2 separate regions of the Homo sapiens genome follow, and region 2 is linked to region 1. Evidence: promoter capture Hi-C in human tissues and cell types (Jung and others, 2019). All regions are on one chromosome and are shown on one strand. The core of a region is centred on a gene start or on the middle of the fragment in contact, and the rest is flanking DNA. Distances in the headings are between cores, read along the strand shown.

Region 1 (2,802 bases), core at 144-2,643:
GTAGGGAATGGAGAGAAGTGCGGTCTGGTTTCTATCAAGAGCCTTTCAGCCGGGGTTGGACTCTCCAGAGGCCCTGGGCATTTGCTGCACATTTGACCCTTCCAGGGTGGGGAAAGGGGTGAGGGAGCAAGGTCTGGCCCCTGGAGCTGTGACCAGCTGGCTGTGGGAGCTGGCTTCCTCCATCCCACTCTAACCTCCAGCAGCAAGAGAGAGCCCTGGAGAGCAGGAGGTGGGGGGGCCAGGAAAGAGGAAGATCCCAGATGGCAGCAGGTCCTGTGTCCCCTGAAAATGGGGGACATGGGGAGTCAGGGCCGAGCATCTCTGTGGCCACGGTGGCCTGATTCAAAAAGCCAGGAGAGAAGGGGTGGGCAGAGAAGCAGTCTTGCTGGGGCCAGGTGGTATAAGGAGGTGGCTATTGGGCCACTTGTGGACTCACAGGAGAGTTATGAGCATGGACTAGGCTGGAGGGTCCTTAGGCCCCTCACCAGCTGACTGAGGGCCATCCTGCGGGTCCCCATCCCTGAGCCAGAGAACAGAGCACACAGGCTAACAGCCTTTCCCTTGCAGGGCCTCGGGGAAGGCCCCTGGAGAGGTCCCCAGCTGGGAGGCTGTGCTCAGTAGGCCTGGGGACAGGGCCCCCCACCAGGCTGCCTCGCTGCCCGCCACTCTTTGCGTGTTCCCAGGAAGACCTGGGCCTTCCCTGCCCACGGGCATCGACCAGGGCCCAGCGAGGCCGCTGCCGCGCACACCAGCTGTTTCTCCGACCCGGGCGGACGCCAGCCAGGCTTTGTTTGCATTGAGTCAACAGGGACTGTGCGTCCGGGACCCGCGGGCAATGAGGGGCAGGGAGGGGAGCGGACGGTGGATGGGTGGGTGGGGGCGGCGGGAGGCTGGAGATGCGAAGCTGGGGACGCCGCGGGGCGGGACAGGGGGCGGACAGCTGTGTCGCCGGCTCGGGGAGTAGGCACACGTCAGCCTAAGGTGGCAGCAGCGGCTTCGGGGAGAGGGGTGTTCCCAGGAGAGGAGGCTGAGGGTGGGGGACTAGGGCCAGGGGATGGAGCTTCCAGGTACAGGCCGCGGGGTCCCGTTCCGGCGCTGGCCTTGGCGTTACGCTCGGGGCCCGCCCGTCCCCCCATCTCCCGACGAGCCAAGTTCGCGTACCCCCGGCCCTGCCCAGCCCCCAGCCCGGCAGGTGGATGGGGACGCCGGGGCCCCCGTGGCGCACCTGCGTCTTGGTGGTGAGCTGGATCACCGCCTTCCGGAAGTTCAGCTTGGAGTCGGTCGACCCCATGTCTCTGGAGCCCGCTCCGGCCCGGCCCCCGCCCAGACTCCAACCCGGCTCCGGCTTCAGCTCCGGCTCCAGCTCCGCGGCCCCCGCGGCTCTCGCAGGAGACAAGCGGCGCGCCCCGCCCCCGGCCCTCGTCGGCCCCGCCCCGACAGGCCCCGCCCCCGCGTGGCTCCGCCTCCTGCACCTGCAGCGCCCGCCGCCGAAGACCCGCGGAGTCGGCGGTTCCAACCCAGCGCCGCCGCACGCCGGGTGCCTTCTCAGGTCCCACCCGGAGCCTCGACGCTCTTCCTTCTGCGTCGGAGCATTGTACCCGCCTCCGCTGCTACCACGCAGTCCCCAGGGCCCAAAACCCTCCTCGCAGCTCGTCCCCCGCCCCGGTCCTCACCCTTCATCTCCGCTCCGGCTCCTGGCCCACGTCTCAGCTGGCCCTCTCCATCCCACTTTCCTCCTTCTCAGTCTGTCTTTCCCATTCATGTTTTCTGAGCATCCACTCTCTTGGTTCTCCCTTTTTCTGACCTGTCAAACCCACGTGTTCAGACAGTCCCGCAGGCCCTTGGTTATGAGGGAGGGAGGCGCTGACTCAGTTTCCATACTCCAGGAAAGCAGCTCCTCGCCTTGCTGAGCGCGAGAGTCCCTCGCGGTCCCGACCCCTCTCTAGCCACCAGATTCCCAGAGAATCCTTTGAGATTCATCCATTTCAACAAATGTGCTGAGGGTCTGGTATTTGCCAACTCTGTGTCATGGACGGACACAGCGGACATAAGTAGTACAGCCTGCTCTTTATGGCGAGCAGCTAGGGAGAGGGATAAGGAAAGAAGCGGCCAGGGTACAGCCAAATAAGCCTGTAATAGAGGCAGATTAATCATCAAAACAAGGCCGGGTGCGGTGGCTAACGCCTGTAATCCCAACACTTTGGGAGGCCGAGGCAGGCGGATCACGAGGTCAGGAGTTCGAGACCAGCCTGGCCAACATGGTGAAACCCCGTCTCTACTAAAAATACAAAAATTAGCTGGGCTTAGTGGCGCACGCCTGTAATCCCAGCTACTCTGGAGGCTGAAGTAGCAGAATTGCTTAAACCTGGGAGGCAAAGGTTGCAGTGAGCCGAGATCACGCCACTGCACTCCAGCCTGGGCGACAGAGCAAGACTCCATCTCGGGGGGGGGGGGGGAATCAAAACAAGACGACAATGACGATATCTCTAATAGCTACCTCTGAGGTATTATTTTATCCCCATTTTACACTTGGGGAAAATGAGGCTTAAAGCAATTACTTGCCCAAAGCCACACAGGTAGTAAGGAGCTCATCCAAATGAGGCTGCGCTTTTTCCACAACATCATTTTGCAAGCTATGTCTGGAAGCTTCTGGAAATCTTGGATGCTTTTTTATTTTTTATTTTTTGAGATGGAGTTTCGCTCTGTCGCCCACCCAGGCTGGAGTGCAGTGGCACAATCTCAGCTCACTGCAAACTCCACCTCCTGGGTTCAAGCAATTCTCTTGCCTCAGCCGCCCGAGTA
Region 2 (2,802 bases), core at 86-2,585, 550 kb after region 1:
TACCGCCCATGATTTGGGCATGCACCAGTGGATGAAGGTGCTGTCATTTTCTGAGTGGGAAGAATGAAGAGGAGCAGATTTGGGAGGACAAGACCAGTCGAAAGAACTGTGTCAGATAAGTTAATTTTGAGGAGCTTCTTGGACATCCAAGTGAGTGTAAAGCAGACAGACAATTGGAATCCAAGTCTGGAGTGTGAGGAGAGGTCAAGGCTAGATGTAAATATGGGTGCCATGAGCACATGGATGGTATTTAAACTACTGGGCTGTATGGGAGTGCCATCAGAGTAGAGGGCTGGGTCTGAGCCCTGGGGCTCTCTGTGTAGGTTAGGGGGCAGATAAGAAGCAGAAACAGACCGAGGAGTGTCTGGTGATGCAGGAGAAAAACCAAAGTCGCATCACAGAAGCCAAAAGAAGGTCTTTCAAGGAGGAAGTGGTTAGCTGTGCTAAAGCCTGCTGAGATCAAGCAGGATGGGGGACATTCTTATCTATGTTCCTCTGATATGAATGCAGGGACACAAGGTTGAATATGTGGCTCCCTACCAGAAACTTCCCACCGGCATCTGTGGAGGTGTGGGGCTGGAGAGATGCCCACCACCTGCCATCATTTTGTTCACATGGTGATCGGCAGCTTCACTCCTATGAGCTTTGTATCAAAATACTCAAGTATTTCAGGGCGTGGTGGTTTTCTGGTTTCATGGCTATCAGTTTTTTTGGATTTGGCTAAATGTCATTTGTGCCGAGTAAGGTAAGTGGGAGGACAGGAATTCAGAGCCTGAGATCTTTAGGGATGGTGTTCGTAATGAAGCATGGTCCAACCTTAATCACAGGGTTTAGAATCTGGGGGTGTACAGGAGGGGCAGAGAGGGCTGTGGGGATGGCCTGTGTCTGGAGAAACCATTTGGTGTTTTCCAGAGTGGCCATCTGAGCTTTCATTTTTTTTTTTTCTTTTGAGGTCTTCAGCCACCTGAAGAGGTTGGGTTATGTGGTTCGACGATTCCAACCAAGGTAAATCCCCTTCCTGTTCCCCTTCCATATATTCTAGTCCTGGGACCTGGCTGACTAGTCTAAGGTAGAAAATGGCCTCTCCTTACCTGGAACCCTTGGCTGGAGTGCAGTTCCTTGGGCACAGACTGGGGGCGCCTGCTGGAAGCGTTCTGAGAGAGGCAGGTTGGGAGGAATCCAGGTCATTTTGTTTTATTCTGGTTTATGAACTCGAGCCGCATCTTCAGATGACCTGCGCCTGCAGCTGAGTGTGTGTGAGCACTGAGAGGCAGGATTGGAACAGTGCCTGGCACTTAGTAGGTGCGCAGGCAGGTATGTAGAGTGTATGCTTAAATGAAGGACTGGGTGAAGAATTTACCATTAGTAGGGTTTCACATTTTTCATGCCAGGTTAAATGTTTTTTCCTTCATCACCTTAGTAATCCAGCATTGGTAAAAGGCAGAGACCTTCAGACTTGGAGTGGAAACGGGTACAGCTTTTGCAGTTACAGTATGTCACAAAAGCTCTAAAGCAGGCACATCTTTTCTTTTCTTTTTGAGACGGAGTCTCACTCTGTCGCCCAGGCTGTAGTGCAGTGGCATGATCTCAGCTTACTGTAGCCTCTGCCTCCTGGGTTCAAGCAGTTCTCCTGCCTCAGCCTCCCAAGTAGCTGGGATTACAGGCGTGTGCCACCATGCCTGGCTAATTTTTTTATTTTATTTTATTTTTAGTACAGATGGGGTTTCACTGTGTTGCCCAGGCTGGTCTCGAACTCCTGACCTCAAATGATCCTCCCGCCTCAGCCTCCCAAAGTGCTGGGATTACAGGCATGAGTCACCACGCCCAGCTCTACATCTTTTCTTTTCTGAAAGTGGAACCTATCCTAAGGAAATAATCGTGGACGTGTACAGTGGTTCACCTGTGAGAATGATCAACGATATTTATTATTTGCTGGGGGTCAGGCCCTGTACACATCGCTGAGAACAGAAGAGCAAAATCACTGCCCTCACAGAGCTTGCATTTAGTGAGGAGTCACACAGAACACACTCACTGTGCAAAATCAGTGTACTTGCAAACAAGAGTTGAACAAGAGGCAGGCTCACACAAATGAGAGGTTATCCCTTAGAGCAGCTCTGTCCAATAGAACTTTCTGTAATGATGAAAATGTTCTGTGTCTGTGATGTCTAATACATGGGGCTAGAGCAACTGTGGGACTGAATGTTTAATTTCATTTAATTTAAATGTATTTAAATCTAACTTAAATAGGCTGGTGTGGTGGCTCACGCCTATAATCCCAGCATTTTGGGAGGCCGACGCGGGCGGATCGCGTGAGCTCAGGAGTACGAGACCAGCCTGGACAGCGTGGTGAAACCCTGTCTCTACTAAAATACCAAAAAAAAAAAAAAAAAAAAATCAGCCAGGTGTGGTGGCAGGCGCCTATAGTCCCAGCTATTCAGGAGGCTGAGGCACGAGAATTGCTTGAACCTGGGCAGCTGAGGTTGCAGTGAGCCGAGATCTTGCCAGTGCACTCCAGCCTGGGCGAAAAAGCGAAACTCTATCTCAAAAAAAAAAGCAAACTTAAATAGCCACCTGTCGCTAGTGGCTCTTTTTTGAACAGCATTGCCTTAAAGCCTTAATTCACAGCCAGGAGGCCAGGCACAGTGGCTCACACCTGTAATCCCAGCACTTTAGGAGGCCGAGGCAGGTGGATCATGAGGTCAGGAGATGGAGACCATCCCGGCCAGCATGGTGAAACCTTGTCTCTACTAAGAATACAAAAATTAGCTGGGCATGGTGGCACGCGCCTGTAGTCCCGGTACT

What was found. The method cuts DNA at HindIII sites, captures the fragments that hold promoters and counts their contacts. A contact is called where the count stands out against the background at its distance.
Region 2: a fragment that was not itself captured here is called in contact with the fragment with the promoter of HID1 in region 1 in 1 of the 25 tissues and cell types used here (lymphoblastoid cells).

The regions. Positions count from the first base shown.
Region 1 is chr17:74,971,366-74,974,167 of GRCh38, forward strand. HID1 (HID1 domain containing) reads right to left here and starts at 1,394. Exons shown (of 19, transcript NM_030630.3): 1 at 1,226-1,394. The coding sequence starts at 1,291. All of the region lies in intron 1 of HID1-AS1 (HID1 antisense RNA 1), which reads left to right. RefSeq lists a silencer at 1,349-1,458. The HindIII fragment of the contact is 11,502 bases long and covers 1-2,802 here.
Region 2 is chr17:75,518,043-75,520,844 of GRCh38, forward strand. It overlaps TSEN54 (tRNA splicing endonuclease subunit 54), which reads left to right. Exons shown (of 11, transcript NM_207346.3): 6 at 953-1,005. Among named protein-coding and RNA genes, the nearest start is that of TSEN54, 2.9 kb to the left of the region's middle. The HindIII fragment of the contact is 6,204 bases long and covers 1-2,802 here.